Linked DNA regions of Homo sapiens: all the other regions are linked to region 3. The links are contacts of gene promoters, found by promoter capture Hi-C in blood cells and fetal thymus (Javierre and others, 2016). All regions are on one chromosome and are shown on one strand. Each heading gives the region's core, a stretch centred on a gene start or on the middle of the fragment in contact. The rest is flanking DNA. Distances are from core to core; before and after follow the strand shown. Region 1 has its middle 11 kb from the start of SLC6A3. Region 2 overlaps SLC6A3 (solute carrier family 6 member 3). Region 3 holds the start of SLC6A19 (solute carrier family 6 member 19).

Evidence for each region. The method cuts DNA at HindIII sites, captures the fragments that hold promoters and counts their contacts. A CHiCAGO score of 5 or more calls a contact.
Region 1: a contact is called between a fragment that was not itself captured here and the fragment with the promoter of SLC6A19 in region 3, in 2 of 17 cell types (naive CD8 T cells and non-activated CD4 T cells). The highest score is 5.2, in naive CD8 T cells.
Region 2: a contact is called between a fragment that was not itself captured here and the fragment with the promoter of SLC6A19 in region 3, in 1 of 17 cell types (non-activated CD4 T cells). The highest score is 5.3, in non-activated CD4 T cells.

What each region holds. Positions count from the first base shown.
Region 1 is chr5:1,455,045-1,457,744 of GRCh38, reverse strand. No RefSeq gene overlaps it. Among named protein-coding and RNA genes, the nearest start is that of SLC6A3, 11 kb to the right of the region's middle. RefSeq lists an enhancer at 678-1,877. The HindIII fragment of the contact is 2,497 bases long and covers 129-2,625 here.
Region 2 is chr5:1,420,272-1,422,971 of GRCh38, reverse strand. It overlaps SLC6A3 (solute carrier family 6 member 3), which reads left to right. Exons shown (of 15, transcript NM_001044.5): 5 at 958-1,096; 6 at 2,269-2,403. Among named protein-coding and RNA genes, the nearest start is that of SLC6A3, 24 kb to the left of the region's middle. RefSeq lists an enhancer at 1-302. The HindIII fragment of the contact is 7,423 bases long and covers 1-2,700 here.
Region 3 is chr5:1,200,244-1,202,943 of GRCh38, reverse strand. It overlaps SLC6A19 (solute carrier family 6 member 19), which reads right to left and starts at 1,349. Exons shown (of 12, transcript NM_001003841.3): 1 at 1,092-1,349. The coding sequence starts at 1,293. The HindIII fragment of the contact is 15,195 bases long and covers 1-2,700 here.

The DNA.
Region 1 (2,700 bases), core at 128-2,627, 250 kb before region 3:
ACAGACATTATTCTGGCTATGAAATGGTGCCATGTCTTGGTCCACAGTTCGAGGCACTATGTCATCCATCAGGATGGCAGTCCAATGTTCTAGGGCACTGCCTCCCCATGGGCAGCACACCTAAAGCTTCAAGAAGTCATCCTCATGCTTAATCAGACTCGCCACCTCTGGGTGATGGGAAACGTAGGGATTCCAAGTGTGTACCTGTTCCCATGCTGCCTTTGCTGTAAAGTAAATTCCTTAACAATGCCATAGGAGGTGGGCAATAGTGAATAAGCCATTCATCAAGCCCACAGATGGTGCTGTCAGAAACACTGACAGCAAAGACATATCCATATCTGGAATAAGGGAAACTGAAACCAAGAGATACTCCCCTCAATGATGGAAGAGTCCAGTGTGATCAACCTGCCTCCAGGGGGCTGGCTAGTCCCTTTCCCAGGAATGGTACCTGGGGCTAAGTATGGGACCCTGCTTCCGACATGTTGGGAGTCCAGTGATAACTGCATCAGCCTAGGCTATTGTTGATGGGTCAGCTCTTTGTTATTGATCCACACTCATCTCCATCCCTATTTCCAGTGCCAGTTTGTGAATGGTTCTACTAGGTAAACACTGGGTTGGCTGGGAAAGAGACAGGCTGACATCCACTGCCTGTGTCATACCCTGGCAGAGACTATAGTAAATTAGACCCGACAAGAGAAAATATTAGTGAACCTGAAAATACAGCTATGTGTGATCCCAGTGATGTACAGGGAGAAACAGACAGAAATGAAGCACAAGTGGGCATGGAATAATGCCACAAGGCCCATCACATGTGATTGGAGCCCTAGAAAAGGAGGAGGACAGGACAGAAAAATTATTTGATGAAATAATGGCCAGAATTTTTTTCCAAATCTATAAACTAAGATACCCAAGAAGCTCAATAAGCACCCAGCAGAAAAAATACAATAAAAACACAGCAAGACACACATCACAAACTGCTGAAAGCCACTGAAAAGGAGAAAAATCTTAAAAGCAGCTGGAGAAAAACAACATACTATCAAGGAACAGAGATAAGAATGAAAGCCAACTTCTCTTCAGAAACTATGCAACCCAGACGTCAAGGAACAGAGATAAGAACGACAGCCGACTTCTCTGCAGAAACTATGCAACCCAGACGTCAAGGAACAGAGATAAGAACGACAGCCGACTTCTCTGCAGAAACTATGCAACCCAGACGTCAAGGAACAGAGATAAGAACGACAGCCGACTTCTCTGCAGAAACTATGCAACCCAGACGTCAAGGAACAGAGATAAGAACGACAGCCGACTTCTCTGCAGAAACTATGCAACCCAGACGTCAAGGAACAGAGATAAGAACGACAGCCGACTTCTCTGCAGAAACTATGCAACCCAGACGTCAAGGAACAGAGATAAGAACGACAGCCGACTTCTCTGCAGAAACTATGCAATCCAGATGACTGATGACATCTTCAAAGAGACTAAAGACGAATGCGGCCACCCTGGAATTCTATGCTAAAATAAACATCTTTTAAAAATCAAGGCATAATAGAAACATTTTGAAATCAGCAAAAGCTGAGATAATTCACTGCCAGTAGTTCATAATGACCAACAATGTTCAGAGTTCTACAGGCAGAAATAAGAGAATACCATGCAGAAATTTGGCATTTGAAGGTAGATTGTGGTAAGTTAAAAATACACATAGTGGCCAGGCATGGTGGCTCACGCCTGTAATCCCAGCACTTTGGGAGCCTGAAGTGGGTGGATCATCTGAGGTCAGGAGACCTTGTGGCCAACATGGTAAAACCCCATCTCTACTAAAAGTATGAAAATTAGCTGGGCATGATGGTGGGTACCTGTAATCCCAGCTACTTGAGAGGCTGACGTGGGAGAATCTCTTGAACCCTGGAGGTGGAGGTTGCAGTGAGCTGATATGGTGCCATTGCATTCCAGCCTGAGGTGACCGAGCAAAACTTCATCTAAAAAAAAAATACACATAGTAAGACCCCCTCCCATAGAAAACAGAACCAAAGAAGTATAACTAATATAAATGTAAATTTTACCCAAACTAAGAAGGAAGGTGGGAGGGAAAGAACAAAGGACAGAGAATAGAGATAGATAACAAATAGCAAAACGGTAAATTTAAATCCAATCATATTAGTAGTTACATTAAACATAGACTAAAAACTCCTAAATGACATTTGTTGGACTAAATAAAAAATAAAATACCTAACTATATGCTGTTTAAATATAGATTGAAAGTAGAAGAATAGACTGGGCACAGTGGCTCCTGCCTATAATCCCAGCACTTTGGGAGGCCGAGGCAGGTAGATCATTTGAGGTCAGGAGGTCAAGACCAGCCTGTCCAACATGGTGAAACCCCATCTCTAGTAAAAATGCAAAAAAATTAGCTGGGCGTGGTGGCACATGCCTGTAGTCCCAGCTACTTGGGAGGCTAAGGCAGGAGAATCACGTGAACCCTGGAGGCAGAGGTTGCAGTGAGCTGAGATTGCGCCACTGCACTCCAGCCTGGGTGACACAGCAAGACTCTGTCTCATAAAAAAACAAAACAAAAAGGTAAGAAAGTAAAAGAATAGGAAATATATTTATAACATGCAAACAGAAGCTTAAGAAAGTTTATTTGGCAAGATTGTCATACTAAGTGTACTTTAGAGACTAGGAGAATTAGCAGAGTTAAAGACA
Region 2 (2,700 bases), core at 125-2,624, 220 kb before region 3:
GTGGGCAGCGGTGGGCACCCAGCAGCGTGGGCAGCACTGTGGGCAGCGGTGGGTACCCAGCACCATGGGCAGCACTGTGGGCAGCGGTGGGCACCCAGCACCATGGGCAGCACTGGGCAGCAGTGGGCACCCAGCAGCGTGGGCAGCACTGTGGGCAGCGGTGGGTACCCAGCACCGTGGGCAGCACTGTGGGCAGCGGTGGGCACCCAGCACCTTGGGCAGCACTGGGCAGCGGTGGGCACCCAGCACCGTGGGCAGCACTGTGGGCAGTGGTGGGCACCCAGCACCATGGGCAGCACTGGGCAGCGGTGGGTACCCAGCACCATGGGCAGCACTGGGCAGCGGTGGGCACCCAGCACCATGGGCAGCACTGGGCAGCGGTGGGTACCCAGCAGCGTGGGCAGCACTGTGGGCAGCGGTGGGCACCCAGCAGCGTGGGCAGCACTGTGGGCAGCGGTGGGCACCCAGCAGCGTGGGCAGCACTGTGGGCAGCGGTGGGCACCCAGCAGCGTGGGCAGCACTGTGGGCAGCGGTGGGTACCCAGCAGCGTGGGCAGCACCGTGGGCAGCGGTGGGCACCCAGCACCTTGGGCAGCACTGGGCAGTGGTGGGCACCCAGCATTGCTCAGCAACTTCCTTTTGGTTTCTGTGGCTCCTTTTCTTCAAAGACCCAAGGTGCCCTCCGCCTCCGCAGCTCCAGTGAGCAGGGGTGCCAAGGGCAGATGGTGAGGCAGGGCTTCCTGGGCCTCCCACGTGCTCCACGGGTTTCAAGGGCGGCCCTGACACCTCTGCCAGGGCCTGTGGGCCAGACCTCCCTGGAAGGCATCTCTTGTCCATCAGACTGGATGCTTTCTGCCCTGCTGAGATGGGGAGGGCAGGTCCCCGGACAAGCTCAGCCGTCCAGTTCCAGGTGGGTTGACAGCCACCCACAGAGTCCCCCGCTGACTCCCCTCTGCAGACGTGGCGTGCTGCACCTCCACCAGAGCCATGGCATCGACGACCTGGGGCCTCCGCGGTGGCAGCTCACAGCCTGCCTGGTGCTGGTCATCGTGCTGCTCTACTTCAGCCTCTGGAAGGGCGTGAAGACCTCAGGGAAGGTGAGGCTCGGGGGTCACCAATTGGGCCTGTAGACATGGGGCCACCAAGTGGACATGTGGCCGTGGCTGGACAGGAGGTGCACGTGTGGCCTCAGTTGGGTTTTGTGCTACCAATGTGGCCATGGCCAGGTTGGGGTGGACACATGGCCATGGTTGAGTTTGGGAGACTCATATGGCCATAATCAGGTTGGGAGTGTACACGTGGCCATGATTGAGGGTACACCTGTGGCTGTGCCGGGTTGGCTTGGGTAGACGCGCGGCCATGGGTGGGTGGGGGGACACGTGGCCGTGGCTGGGCTGGGCGGACACACGGCACAGTTGGGTTTTGGGTCCACGTGTGGCTGTGTTTGGGGAAGGGCCTCAGGAGGGAAGCACTCACAGCAGTGTTTCTGGCAGGAAGGCACACACAAGATGATTTTTTTGTTGATAAAAATACTTTGGGAGGCTGAGACGGGCAGATCACCTGAGGTCAGGGGTTCAAGAACAGCCTGGCCAACATGATGAAACCCCATCTCTACTAAAAATACGAAATTAGCCAGGCACGGTGGCACGTGCCTATAATCCCAGCTACGTGGGAGGCTGAGGCAGGAGAATTGCTTGAACCCAGGAGGCGGAGGTTGCAGTGAGCCAAGATCATGCCACTGCACTCCAGCCTGGGCAAAAAGAGCAAAACTCCATCTCAAAAAAAAAAAAAAAACTTTGGTTGTTATATGGGCCAAAACCAGTTTTGACCAAGATACGACTCCTCCCTTGGAAAAGTGCGTGTAGTATGGCACCAGCCACGGGAGCCTCCCGCAGGGACACAGCCCAGAGCAGCCCTTCATCGTGCCACAGTGCCGTTCACCAGTGTGAATCCACTCACGTCCCACGCATCAGAAAACCCCCATCAGCCACTCCCAGCTACTCTGGCGGACCGAATGCAGAAAAGGAATGTGCTTTCCCTGCCAAGTTGTTCTTCCCTTTCCATCCCTGGGGAGGGTGTGCAGGACAGAAAGTGTCTGACCTTCTCACTCCAAGGAGCATTTGCTGAGCTGGCGTCCCAGGAAATGTTTGGGAATTGGGCCTCCCAATCAGAGGACAAGCCGTCAGGGCAACCCGGTGCCCTTGTGCCAGTGTCTGCTCCCACCAAGGGCCCTGCCTGTGCAGCCTGGTGACACTGTCCTCTCCTGCAGGTGGTATGGATCACAGCCACCATGCCATACGTGGTCCTCACTGCCCTGCTCCTGCGTGGGGTCACCCTCCCTGGAGCCATAGACGGCATCAGAGCATACCTGAGCGTTGACTTCTACCGGCTCTGCGAGGCGTCTGTGAGTACAGTCTGCTCACTGCTTCACAGTCCACAGGGGCTCTGGCATTCCCAGGTTTCCATATGCATTGCCTGCCAGGGCTGAGAGGTGTCAGAGTTGCAGACACCAGGGTTCTTTCCTCGGGAAGCCAAATCCCAAGTACCTGTGATACAGCACGAGTCATCTAAATCAAATTACATCAGAAACTCCATCTAGACTCAGGCTGCAGCTTTGGTCAGCAAAAGAAGACATAATTCAGGGTTAAAATATTTGGAGAAAGCCTCCCGGAGAGAGGAGACTCAGCTGGGCCATGGGGGA
Region 3 (2,700 bases), core at 100-2,599:
CCCGACCTGCCTCCAGTGGAAAGTGCAGGCTGGACCAGAGGCTCATGAAGCGCCCACCCCCGCAAGGCAGTGATCAACTCCTTGACAATGCTGGAGGCGAAACTGATTCAGGAAAAGCCCATTTCTGTTTTTCTTTAAAAACCTTCACATCACAAAGCCCGCGTGAGAGACAGCAGCTCTCCATGGTGAGAAGGAACAGGGCCCCCTGAGGGCAGACTCCTCTAAACGGAGGCTGAGACCTTCACGGCCCCCCCGTGAACTGCCCCAGGGCAGCAGGAAGCCTGTTTCCCAAGGGTGCCCGGCCCTCCTGGACCTTCCGCTGAGAAAGCAGCAGGTTTATGAGGGCAGCAGCTTTGGGGTTCGCCAAGCCCAAGGCTGAGTTCAAGTGTGGGGGTCCTAGGTACAGCCCCCTGCCAGGCCTGGGAGCCACTTCTCAGATGCTCAGGACCACTGGGCAGGAACACAAATGTCACCTCTGTGCCAGCAGCGGCCATGCCTACCTGGGCCGCAGGAGCCAGAGGAACGAGGAGCAGTCAGGCTTGTGTGTTGGGTGGGCACAGCGGCTCCCGGCCTCCAGGCCTGAGGGCACCTGGCTCAAGAGCCAGGCCCGAGTCCACAGGCTCCGGCTACCCACTCTGCTCCTCTAGGGTCACCTGCCCCCAACCCAGCTACCTCCTCTGCTCCCTGCACTGGCAGGTGTCCGCCTGTGGGGCTGGGACGAGAGGTGATGCCCAGGAGGGCCCAGCCCCGCGTCCTCCGAGGAGGGGCTGTACCGGGAGAAACACCCTTCCCCCGGCCCCACCCTCAGGCCAGAACGTTCCAGGACTGCCAGTCTGGAACACAGGGCCCTCCCTGGAGCCCCACACGAAGTCTTGGGGTCGTGCCGGCCAGGCCCATCTCCTCACCAGCAGCCTAGGAACCGGGCACGGGGGCCCGTGGGGGCCCCAGCTCCCCCCACACCCTGCGGCTTCTCCTCTCCCCTCCGTGCTTGGGGAGCCGAGGGTCCGGGGAGGATGTCTGCCCAGGGCCTCTGCGTGTGTCTGTGCTTCCCTGGCCACGGCCTCGCCCGCAGCCCCGCCCGGCCAGCCTACCTCCTCCGTGGCTCTGACACAGGTAGGGGAAGCGCCACACGTTGCCGAGGCCCACGCAGAAGCCCAGGCAGGTGAGCATGTACTGCGCCTTGTTGTCCCACTTCGGCCGGGAGCTGGCCTCCTCCTGCTCGATGGTCTCCAGCTCAGCCAGGGACGGGATCCGGGCGTCTAGGCCGGGGTTGGGCAGCACGAGCCTCACCATGGTGGTCGCTGGACGGCTCCGCACACAGCAGGCAGGGCAGAAGCTGGAGGGCGAGTGGCCGTGGGCCGGGAGCCGGGCACTTTATAGAGAACCTTTGGCACCTCGCCCCAGGCACCTGGGCAGAACGGAGCCAGTCGTCAGCAGATCTGCAGGGTGCGTCTGCGGAGGGACTGTTAATGCCTTATCTGCAGAGACGCCCGGCCCCGGGGCCAGCAGAGCCACCCACTGCCTTCGGGCAACCGGAGGCTGCTCCGTGGGCGCTGGCCACCCCTCCCCCTGCACAAACGCACACACAAATGCGTACAAACGCCGGTGCACCCCGGGGAGAAAGAACCAAGGCAAACAGGATGCTGGCTCTGCCCCGGTCTGGGAGCCCCTGGCTGCCGCACACCCCCACCTGCAGGACGCCGGGTGGGCCTCTCCACAGCTCCCTGGAGCACAGGCATCCCCGGCCCCCACCCCAGTCCAGGGAGAGGGAACTCAGCGGGAGCAGGGGCCCTGGGGCAGCTCTTGGTCTGCTCACACCAAGCACAGCGAGGCCCTGGACCCCTCCAGCCTGGCTCTGGGCTCTAGACGGCTGCTCGGGGGCCCGGCTTCCCACCAGTCCCCACGGAACCACGGCTCCTTGGGATGTGGCCTGAATCAACCTGAGAGTGGGGTTCCCGTGGCTGTGCCCCCTGGGCCACAGTTTCATTCTGGGGTTCGTAATGAACTTCATAATGAACAGCTCACGCTGCCCAACCCCAGCCTGGATGCCCGGATCCCATCCCTGGCTGAGCTGGAGAACATCGAGCAGGAGGAGTTCAGCTCCCGGCCATAGGTTCAGGACCCAGAGCCACCCTCTAGGGCAGCCTCGTCCCCAAGGGCCCTCTGGGGTCACGGGGGATGGAGGGTCCTGTGTCATGGAACCTGCAGCCACCCCAGATCCCCACCTTCCCGGTGACTGCACGGTTTCTGTCCTTCTGTGGAGCACTTTGTGGGGGGCAGTCCTGTGCCGGGCATGGGACAGCGAAGGAGATGGTGTTCCTGCTCCCCAGCAAAGAGGCCGTGCAGGGAAGCCACAGGGCTGACCACGGGGTCCAGGAGGGGCAGGAGGAACGTTGCGGGGAGTTCAGGAGAGGATCCTGGGGGTTGTGTCTCCAAAGCCAGAGTGGGATTCTCTCCTGGTTTTCCGCACAGGGAGTTGGAGGCCATCCTCTGTCGGGCGCTGCCCGTTTGGGCCCCCACTTGGGCCTCCCCTCACGTCTCTCCCATCTAGGAGACCTCAAGCTCTGGAATCCCGGACCAGCCTTCCTGAGGCCAGGGACGGTGCCACACCCTGCGCCTCCCCAGGCCTTCCTCCCGTTGCCTCCTTCAGCCTCTGGGCTCACCTCCCTGGGGGCCCTCGCTGGCCCCCTGCCCCCACTG